Regions from separate parts of the Homo sapiens genome. Here region 2 is linked to region 1. Evidence: promoter capture Hi-C in 16 types of primary human blood cells and fetal thymus (Javierre and others, 2016). All regions are on one chromosome and are shown on one strand. The core of a region is centred on a gene start or on the middle of the fragment in contact, and the rest is flanking DNA. Distances in the headings are between cores, read along the strand shown. Region 1 overlaps TEP1 (telomerase associated protein 1). Region 2 holds the start of HNRNPC (heterogeneous nuclear ribonucleoprotein C).

Region 1 (5,381 bases), core at 2,882-5,381:
ACCATGTTGCCCAGGCTGGTCTCGAACTCCTGGACTCAAGTGATCCGCCCGCCTTGGCCTCCCAAAGTGCTGGGATTACAGGCATGAGCCACCGCACCCAGCCAGGACAGGAATTGTTTTTGATCTATTGCACAATATCTCCAATGTAGATATGCAATAAAAGTAATGATGCCAGTGAAGATGGTCCTGCAACAAAAGGCACCTTAGGAGAGGCTCTGAGGAGAGAAGATAGCCAGACACAGAGCAGCACAGAGGGAAACTGAGACACTGAAAGCTAGAGACAAGAGCATACAACAGACATGGCTGGAGTCAAGATGAGTGCCTGGAGCTATTACCAAAGTTGCTTCCTGAGCTGTCTCTGTGGCAGAGATGGATTTCAGGGCTATAGGGCAGGTTGAAAGGTCTAGTCCCTTAGAGAAATGCTGAGCCCTCCAACTTGGAGGCTCAGAGAGCAGGCAATTGCTGTTGTTCACACGGTACAAATCAGCTTGCGTCATGTGAGATATCTGTAGACTCTGGAACAAGGGGCTGGCAGACACAGTGCTCTTTAGACTAGAGAGGGTGGCCAGGCACCGGTTCTCCAAGGAGAGGATGTCTGGGTGGGCAGAAACATGTCCATGTGGTTTCTCCATGGTCTTCAGGTCAGAAAGTGTGGCCAGGCACTGGTTCTCCAAGGAGAGGATGTCTGGGTGGGCAGACACATATCCATGTGGTTTTTCCATGGTCTTCAGGTCAGGAAGCGTGGCTAGGCACTGGTTCTTCAAGGAGAGGATATCTGAGTGGGTAGATACATGCTGATGTAGTTTCTCCAAGGGCTGTAAGTCAGGGAGCATAGCCAGGCACCGGTTCTCCAAGGAGAGGATGTCTGGATGGGCAGACACATGCCCATGGAGTTTTTCCATGGCTGAAACTCAGCTTGTATATGCCTAGAAGGAGAGAAAGACAGGAGATGAGCACCTGGCTGCACTGAGCGTGTATTTGCATGAGAGCATATCTTCCCCACAGCCCTCCTGATAATGCCAATGATTTGTGGGTAGAAAACAACCAATGTTGTTTTTCCCAGGACTGGGTTCATCCAGAGAATATTCTAAGAGAGAGGGATAGGGAAAAGGTAAGGCAGAGGCTTAAGAGCAGAGAAATTAAGAAAAGGCCAGGTGCAGTGGCTCATGCCTGTAATCCCAACACTTTGGGAGCTGAGGCAAGAGGATTCCTTGAGCCCAAGAGTTTGAGGCAAGCCTGGGCAACACGGTGAAACCTCATCTCTACAAAGTTTTAAAAAATAAAAAATATTTCTTAAAAAAAAAAACAACAAAAAGGAATGGCTGGAGAGGAAGGGACATGCCTTCTCATAAGAAGGTAAAGGAGACCCAACCCCCCTGACCCCCGCTGCAGGACTATCAGTTTGATCCCTACTTAGTAGAGAGGCCTCGCAATATAATCTGGACTGTGGGTTCATAGCTCCAGAGAAACAGGTACTTTAATCAAGTTGTCAATATTCACCACCCCAGCTTCCTTGCCTCCTATTCACTCTTTAACCAACTAAATGGGATTCTGTCCCCACCAGTCCACAAGTCCTCTTAGGTAACCAAGGAACTTTTTCTTACTCCCATAAATAAATATATCTTGGCCTTTATCTTATTTCACCCCTCAAGTAGAATATGACATTGTTGATTACTCTCTCATTAAAACTCTCTCTTCCTTTGCTTTCCATGATGCTACTGTCCTGATTTTCTTCTTAAAACTATTCTGACTAGATCTTCTGAGGGATTCTTTCTCTGCCATTTCTTAACATCAATGCTCCTTGCAGTTCTATTCTAATCCTTTTACATACTTTCCTGGAGTGGTCTCACCCACTATGTGGCTCCAAATGACATTTCTATGCTGGCGACTCACAGATCTATTCCTGGACCTAGATCTCCCTTCTGAGCTTCATATTCACTTATCCATTTCCCCGTTGGACATCCCCACTGGATGACTCAAAGGTGCTCCAAATTCCACAGATCCTAAATGTATCATCTTTCTCCTTCTCATATCTCTGCCCCAAATCCATTCCCCTTCCTTTGCCCCCTTTGCCCACTGGAGTTGGAAGTGAGACAGACTTTACTTTGAATCCTCCTTTACCTTGGGATCTTGGTTGGATAAGATACTTAAATTCTCTGTGTCTCTAGGGTTTTCTCATTTATAAAATTAAGAAAAATGCTGGCCGGGCGCGGTGGCTCACGCCTGTAATCCCAGCACTTTGGGAGGCCGAGGCGGGCGGATCACAAGGTCAGGAGATCGAGACCATCCTGGCTAACACAGTGAAACCCCATCTCTACTAAAAAAATACAAAAAATTAGCCAGGCAGGGTGGCGGGCACCTGTAGTCCCAGCTACTCGGGAGGCTGAGGCAGGAGAATGGCGTGAACCAGGGAGGCGGAGCTTGCAGTGAGCCCAGATTGGCCACTGCACTCCAGCCTGGGCGACAGAGCAAGACTCTGTCTCAAAAAAAAAAAAAAAAAAAAAAAAAAAAAAAAAAAATGCCTACCTCACAGAGTTGTTATAGAAATAAATGAGAAAAAAATATTAGGCACTTTGAGCATTGCCTGGCACTAAGTGTTCAATATAGAAGCTATTATTATTTGTTATTATTATCCAGTAAACTACTAAATTCTATTGATTCTACTCCCTCAGTGTCTCTCAGATCTATCCAATTCTCTCCATTCCTCCTACCACCACCTTTGTTGAAACCCTCTAATCCATGTGGTGACATACTGTATATAGATTTGTCTAAAGGACCTCCCTGCTAGAGCCAGATGTGGTAGCCTGCAATCCCAGTGACTCTCAGAGGCTGAGGCAGGAGGATCACTTGAGCCCAGGAGTTTAAAACCAGCCTGAGCTACATAGTGAGACTCCTTTTTTTTTGAGACAGAGTCTTGCTCTGTCACCCAGGCTGGAGTGCAATGGCACGATCTTGGCTCACTGCAACCTCCGCCTCCCAGGTTCAATCCATTCTCCTGCCTCAGCCTCCCGAGTAGCTGGAATTACAGGCGCCCGCCACTATGCCCAGCTGATTTTTTTTTCTTTTTTTTTTTTTGTATTTTTAGTAAGAGACAGGGTTCCACTATGCTGGCCAGGCTGGTCTCGAACTCCTGACCTTGTGATCCACCCACCTTGGCCTCCCAAAGTGCTGGGATTACAGGTGTGAGCCACTGTGCCTGGCGGACTCCTTTTTTTTTAAGCATGTTTGCTTATTAGCCCACTTGCTAATTGTTTCTCCTTTGTGGTTTTTTTTTTTTTTTTTTTTTTTTTGCTTTTTGTTTTTTGAAACGGAGTCTCACTCTATTGCTGGCTGGAGTGCAGTCGCACAGTCTCAGCTCACTGCAACCTCGACTTCCCGGGTTCAAGTAATTCTCCTGCCTCAGCCCCCCAAGTAGCTGGGATTACAAGTGCCTGCCACCACACCCAGCTAATTTTTGTATTTGTAGTAGAGACAGGGTTTCACCATGTTCATCAGGATGGTCTCAATCTCCCGACCTCATGATCCACCCACCTCAGCCTCCCAAAGTGCTAGGATTACAGGCGTGAGCCACCGCACCCAGCCTAATTGTTTCTCTTTACTGAAATACAACTCCTTAAGGTAAGGGCTCCTTTGTCTTGCTCCCCTCTGCATCTTCAGCATCATACACAAAACCCGACTTCCGGTCACCTCCCAGCATCATCTCTCACTAACACCCCGATCTAACCCTCAGCACTCTAAGCTTCAATCATACAAATTTTATTTAGCTTATTAATTGCCAAGGTATCTCTTGACTACGGGCCTGTGCACAGGCAGATCCCTGGAACACTCTTTCTTCTACCAATACCACCCCTCCTTTACAAGGCCAAATGCTACTTTCCTCTCACTCTACAGACTTCAGTTTCATCAACTCCTCCAAAAAGCCTGTGCTGACACCAAGCCCCAGTCTGATTTAGGTGGCCTTCTCCTTGTTTTCACAACACCCATATGTCCCCTATCATAGAGCACATCACCTGTTTGTCTTTCTTCCCAATAGACCATTAAGTTCCTGAGGAGAGAGACCCTTTTAGCCTTGTTCCCACAATTGCTGGTCAGCGGGATTCAGAGGCTTTTGAGAATCTGGTAAAAGCTATGGAGCTTTTTCACAGAAAAAAAAAAAGTATATACTGTTTTGTGCTCAATTTTCAGAGTGTCTATGAAGCCCATTTATGGACCTCCCAGGATCTCCATAAACTGAAAATTAGAAACCTCTGCCTAACAGAATGCTTGAATTATACCATCAGGAACCTATTTTCTGGCTGGGTGTGGTGGCTCACACCTGTAATCCTAGCATTTTGGGAGGCTGAGGTGGGAGAATCACTTGAGGTCAGGAGTTCAAGACCAGCCTGGGCAACATAGTGAGACCTCTATTTAAAAAAAAAAAGGAATGTATTTTCTTACTTATTTGGACAAAGGCTAATCTCTCATTCATATGTAAATATTTTGGGAATAATATTGTTAAGTCAACCACCTAAACTTAGTGTGAAAAAGCTTAGGGACAAAAGTACAGAACACTTCCAAGAAGACCTGAATGACTAACAATCCAGGGCCAAAAAGGACAACAATATCTCACTGGACGTCAGTGTGACAAACACGTAAAAAATGATGGCTTCTGTGCCCAATACACTTTGCTCATGTCGTTGCCCTATATAAGCCCCCAAGGAAAGGAGTGGGGAAACTCAGAATTGACTCAGATTTTTTTTAAAAGAGATCTCAAGCCAAAAATAAACAGAAAAATAAGGACAGTTTATTTGAGCAACATAGTGAGACTGTCCTATCCTTAAAAGGACAGTCTCACTATTTTGCTCATTTTATTGTTTTGCACCCTGGAGTTTTTGAAAGGAGATTCGGCTGAACCACAAATGGAAAGTTAAAGTTCCGTCCCCACTTCCATCTCTAGTTCCCTTCTCTGGAAGTAAACATTGCTCACAGTTTTATACTAACAGTTTCACAGTTTCTATGCATATGCAAATACATGCCTTCACCATCACCACTGCTTTTGCTTTTGCTTTACACAAACAGGATCATAAGTTAGATGCTATTCTGCACTTAGTATATCTCAGAGACCTTGCCCTGTTAACACATTAATACCCACCTCACTCTTTCCTTTTTTTTTTTTTTTTTTTTTTGAGGCGGAGTCTGGCTCTGTTGTTCAGCTCACTGCAATCTCTGCCTGCCGAGTTCAAGCGATTCTCCTGCCTTAGCCTTCCGAGTAACTGGGATTACAGGCGCCCACCACCATGCCCGGCTAATTTTTTTGTATTTTCAGTAGAGAGGGTTTTCACCATGTTGGTCAGGCTGGTCTCAAACTCCTGACCTCAGGTGATCCCCAACCTCCGCCTCCC
Region 2 (5,381 bases), core at 2,088-4,587, 860 kb after region 1:
CAATTATTATCATTTTTTTGAGATGGGGTCTCACTCTGTCGCCCAGGCTGGAGTGCAGTGGTGCGATGGCTCACTGCAACCTCCACCTCCCAGGTTCAAGCGATTCTCCTGCCTCAGCCTCCCGAGTAGCTGGGACTACAGGCGAGCGCCAGCACGCCAAGCTAATTTTATTTTCAGTAGAGATGGGGGTTTCACCATGTTGGCCAGGCTGGTCTCAAACTCCTGACCTCGTGATCCACCCGCCTCAGCCTCCCAAAGTGCTGGGATTACAGGCATGAGCAGCCACACCCGGCCTTAGAATCAATTCTTTAAACAAAATGCCTGACCTTCCAGTGTACTGTGACAGAATCAAGTTAGAGCACCAAATAATGTTTTCCTGATACAATATAAATAAATCCAAAAACACATAACCTATGATAGTAAATGTACCAAAGAAACCTTTTTTCCTTTTATGTTAATAAACTCAAAATTTCCAATATCGAGAATACCTGTAGTTATGCTACACCTCAAAGTTCTGGTTCTCACCAATCCTCTAGTAAATCTAGTATGCACAAAACCAAAACCTTCCCATTTCCAATGAGAATACATGAATATGCATATTAAGAGCAAATAATGCTCCCCAGAGACAACTACTAATAAAGTACTTGAAGACTGAAATAATGTGGTTAAGAATAGTAATAATAACTACCAATTTAGAAAACCGGGGCCGGGTGCGGTGGCTCACGCCTGTAATACCAGCACCTTGGGAGGCCAAGGCAGGAGGACTCCCTGAGCTCAGGAGTTCGAGACCAGCCTGGCCAACACGGTGAAACCCCGTCTCTACTAAAAATATAAAAATTAGCCCGGTGCGGTGGCACACGCCTGTAATCCCAGCTACTCGGGAAGCCGAGGCAGGAGAATCGCTTGAACCCGGGAGGCGGAGGTTGCAGTGAACCGAGATTGTGCCACGACATGCACTCCAGCCTAGGGCGACAGAGCGAGACTCCGTCTCAAAAAAAAAAAAAAAAAAAAAAAAAAAAAAAACAAAACTGCTTTTAATAAAACTCAATCTGTACAGTTTTTAGGCTTCTGGCAACAAAAAATTTGAATTAGAAACTAAAAATTCAAATAGGTTTTAAAAAAAAGTCTAAGTCCCCTTATTTGCCTAAGGAGGATTAAAATCTATTTCTCCTAACTCCTAGGCAAACTTACTCCCCAGCCAACACCTCTCACATTCAACACTTTATTAAGATTTAATAATTTGCCCCTTAGTCTTTAAAATTAGAGCAACTAGCTATTTTGGAGTTTATTCTTTGCTTGTTTCGCACAGCCATTCCATCCAAAACAAGGTCGAATGCCATGTCAAATCCTCTAGAGATTTAATTACAAACGTAAGCTGTTTAAATTCTCTACAGAAGGAACATCAACCACCAAGTATTCCCGAGAGTGGCACTAGCATGAGGGGGAAAAAAAAGGTCAGAAAACCTGCAACCTGGCCATCCTTCTTCAACTTTTCCCCCTAGCCAATATGAAAATGTTACTAAACGCCTATCTAGTTGAGAACACACCTAGAATTGTGATATAAATACCGTGGCAAACAGTTTCGGATATTAACTCAAAGAATTTTTGGTGCGCTGATATACATACTGACCGGAAGGAACCCATTTTCGAAAACCTCAAAGAAAAGTGCCCGTCAATCAATTTCAACTACTATTAACAGTTCTTAAATACTAATTTCTGACATTTCTCCTTGCCAACATTTTTACTTCATGATTTCCCATTTTTACCCTAACCTCATTTCTAACAGTTCAGCACAATGATAAACTTTAGTTTTAAGTTCCTGTAATAATATACATGTTTAAGCCTTAAGAAAGGGGTCGCGATGTTTTTGACCCTTATTTTACTTCCTATCAAATAGATTGCCTTACAGATGAATTTCTTACCCTGCAGAATGGGTTTAAACTGTGCTTAACAGCTTTAGTTTTTGTGAGATTAACAGATTGTGAAAAATAAACTTAGCCAAATCTCATGTGAGGATTAAAAAAAGCGATGTCCCAGATAAGTCAATGTGACACTAAAGATCTAAACAATTTTTTTTAACTTTTAAGTTTTTTATCAAATTTCAGCACCCAGCAAATAATAGGCACTGTTAATATTTGCTTAATATAACGTAGCTGTGAATTTTTGCCCACATTTAGGCGGACGGGAAAATTAACGCCAGAATATCCCGAAAGTCAAATTTTGTCATCTTACACTTAGGAAGTTACGTTAAAAAATTCTCAAGTCTCGTAGTATTTTTCTTAAGCGCAATTTGGGAATTTCCAGTTACCTCGTGGTTTCCGTCATCAGGTTCTTGGCAAAGATTGCAATACAGTAGTTTTAGAACTATATTAACTAGGTATTCCATTAACTAGGTAAAAACCACTCGACTGACCTCGTGGTCAAATTCCTTACTAGTGCTGCTACTGACTTAATATGACCCTAGCAACCAACACTTTTCTGCCTCAGTTTCCGTCTGAGAAAGAGAGTTAATACCTACCTCAAGCAAAGTTCCACTAACTTATATATTTCAAGTGTTTTGTAACCTGCAGATGAAAAGTCAGCTGTAAATATTAATATAGTTATATCACAATATTTCCTTTTACAAATGTAAGTGAAAATAACTACTTCGAGCTCCATCATTTGCTCATAGAGAGAAATAAAATAAAAAGTTATCAGTAAAATGCTGAATCTTTTGTTAAACCTTTCTCGTAGGCCACGCGGCACGATCCAGGATTTAAAGGCTCGCGATACATCTACTTGGTAACCTTCCCCCTTCCCCTCCCCCACTTTTTACATGTAAGAAGAACGGAGGTAATAGAAGGCATCGGCGCTACGTTAACTTCGACTATATTAATGAGCATCACGATCTTCATTTTCATGATCCCGTAGTCCTCGCGGTCGTAGAAAATGAAAGGAAAGCAGCCGTTAACACAGGAAGAGCGAAAAAAGGACATTTTCCCTGGCGATCGTGGCCTAGAGGACACCAGGTTAAACCTATACAGAGGCTGAGGCCTATAAAACTGCCCCCGGCTTCAACCTAATCCCCCAAAACAAGCAGAATAAATGAGGGCCCGGTTAGTTAGGGGGAAGGATTCCCACATCTTCTCTCCCACACCCCCTCTCGCTTCCCGAAAAACCCAGCGCCTTCCCTGCGTCCGCCCTCTCCACTTACCAAGAAGGGGAGGGAGAAGAGATTCGATTCTGAGTCTCCTACTCCCGGGTTCTGCGTAGAGAAGCCGACTGCTGCTGGAGGTCGGCAACGCGGCCACAACCGCTCAGTCTTCGTCTCTTCACAAAATGGCCCCCGAGTCTCCTCTGCCGCCGAGGCGAAGGCCTAGTCCCCGCCCCATTCCTGAGAATCTTCCTATTGGCTGTGCGTTTTTTCGCTCCCGCTCCTAATTAGACAGTTCAACCGCTCCTCACAATGATATCCAATCACAATTAGCAGTGGGTTAGACTAAGCAGGCGAATTTCCACATGCGTGAGAGAAACTAGTTTATAACTGGTTAGTTTTCCTGTCATTTATTGCCTGGAGAATGCTTATTGGCTATTGCACGGGACGACCCTCTGGGTGGAAACTCGCCTTTGTATCGCGCACCGTCTCACATCCGGGTATCTGGGAGGCCTGATTGGCGGCCGCGGCGTCCTATCGCTGCCCCTTAGAGTGCCTAGTAGAAGATCCGCCCAGACCTCGGATTTCCGGCTGCGCGGGGGCGGGGAAAGGGTTGAGGGGCGTAGTTAGGTGACGGGCGCAAAAGACCTGCCCCAGCCCCGGGCCTAGGGAAAAAAAAGCGCGAAATGAAGCCTCCGTTGTGCAATGTGAATAAAGAAAGGACTTTTCTTAAAATGAGGAGGGAGCAGCAGTGACTAGGCCTTGTTAAAGTGTGTAGAAAACTAACCAGTCCTGCAGTTTTTCCAACCCCAGACCCTTTCTCAGTTCCAGATTCGAATGTCAGCTACCTCGTAGACATCTGCTTCTTGGCCTATTAAACCCTTCTTCAGACAACACATGTTCCATCGAAACCAACTGACTTCCTTATTCCTCTCCAATATAAAAAGGAAGTGCAGAATCCTGGCCTCTGGCCCCAGGGCATCTAATATCTTAAGTGCCAGCAAAATTGGCCCATCCTTCCAAATCTGGTCCCTTAATTTCCCTCCTCTTGAAATGGCTTGTCTCCTACCTACCCCCGTCACCTGCCAGTCTCTCTGGTTACATTATAGGAACTGCGCACGCAGTGGGGTAGCATCAGCTCTACTAAGCCAGCGGTTTCTTTTTTCTTTTCTTTTTTTTTTTTTTTTTTTTTTTTTTTTGAGGCAGAGTCACTGTCGCCCAGGCTGGAGTGCAGTGGCGCGATCTTGGCTCACTGCAACCTCCGCCTCCCGGGTTCAAGCGATTTTCCTGCCTCAGCCTCCTGAGTAGCTGGAACTACAGGTGCGCGCCACCATGTCCAGCTAATTTTTGTATTTTTAGTACAGATGGGGTTTCGCCATGTTGGCCAGACTGTTCAGGTGATCCGCCCGCCTCTGCCTCCCAAAGTGATAAGATTATAGGCGTGAGCCACCACGCCAGACCACTTTAAACTATTTTAAAAAGCAAAGACGAAAAATATGGGAGAAAGTATACACTAAAGTGTTAGTAGTGGTTCTCTCCTGGTGGGAAAATTACATGTGATTTTTTTTTTTAACTTTTTTTTTTTCAAACGGAGTCTCGCTTTGTCACCAGCCTGGAGTGTAGTGGCGCCATCTTGGCTCACTGCAACCTCCGCCTCCTAGGTTCAAGCGATTCTCCTGCCTCAGCCTCCCGAGTAGCTGGAACTACAGGTGCGTGCCACCACGCCCAGCTAATTTTTGTATTTTTAGTAGAGACGGGGTTTCACCATGTTGGCCAGGATGGTCTCCATCTCTTGACCTCGTGATCCGCCCGCCTCAGCCTTCCTAAGTGCTGGGATTACAGGCGTGACCCACCGCGCCCAGCCTTAAAATCTTATTGTACTTTTCTATATTTTCCAAATCATCTACTTTGAGCAAGTAATCAGAGGGAGAATATCCTACGAGTGCTTAAAGCCTCGACTCAATTGCCACATTGCAATTTATTTAAAATTATCTCGTAGCACTGTGGGTAGTTTTACACTCCTCTCCCTTCCTGGATGGTAAGATTTTTTGATGGCAGAGTTTAATTCTTACTCTTCAATATATTTTCCTTGTTTACTACCTATTAATAAATTAATAAAATATTAACCATTAACTTTTATTTATCAGGGGAAATTTTTATTTTTCCAGGACAAGCAGATAGACTGTCCTTTTTTTCTCTCTCTTTCTTTTGAGATGAGGTCTTGTTCTGTTGCCCAGGCTGTAGTGCA

The links. The method cuts DNA at HindIII sites, captures the fragments that hold promoters and counts their contacts. A CHiCAGO score of 5 or more calls a contact.
Region 2: the fragment with the promoter of HNRNPC here is called in contact with a fragment that was not itself captured in region 1 in 1 of 17 cell types (monocytes); the score reaches 6.2 in monocytes.

What each region holds. Positions count from the first base shown.
Region 1 is chr14:20,407,538-20,412,918 of GRCh38, forward strand. It overlaps TEP1 (telomerase associated protein 1), which reads right to left. Exons shown (of 55, transcript NM_007110.5): 2 at 336-926. The coding sequence starts at 902. Among named protein-coding and RNA genes, the nearest start is that of TEP1, 3.3 kb to the right of the region's middle. RefSeq lists enhancers at 4,802-5,381, 4,828-4,997. The HindIII fragment of the contact is 788 bases long and covers 3,738-4,525 here.
Region 2 is chr14:21,266,105-21,271,485 of GRCh38, forward strand. It overlaps HNRNPC (heterogeneous nuclear ribonucleoprotein C), which reads right to left and starts at 3,338. Exons shown (of 9, transcript NM_004500.4): 1 at 3,194-3,338. RefSeq lists enhancers at 157-737, 738-1,317, 2,817-3,441, 3,079-3,338, 3,442-4,067 and a silencer at 3,429-3,508. The HindIII fragment of the contact is 8,584 bases long and covers 1-5,381 here.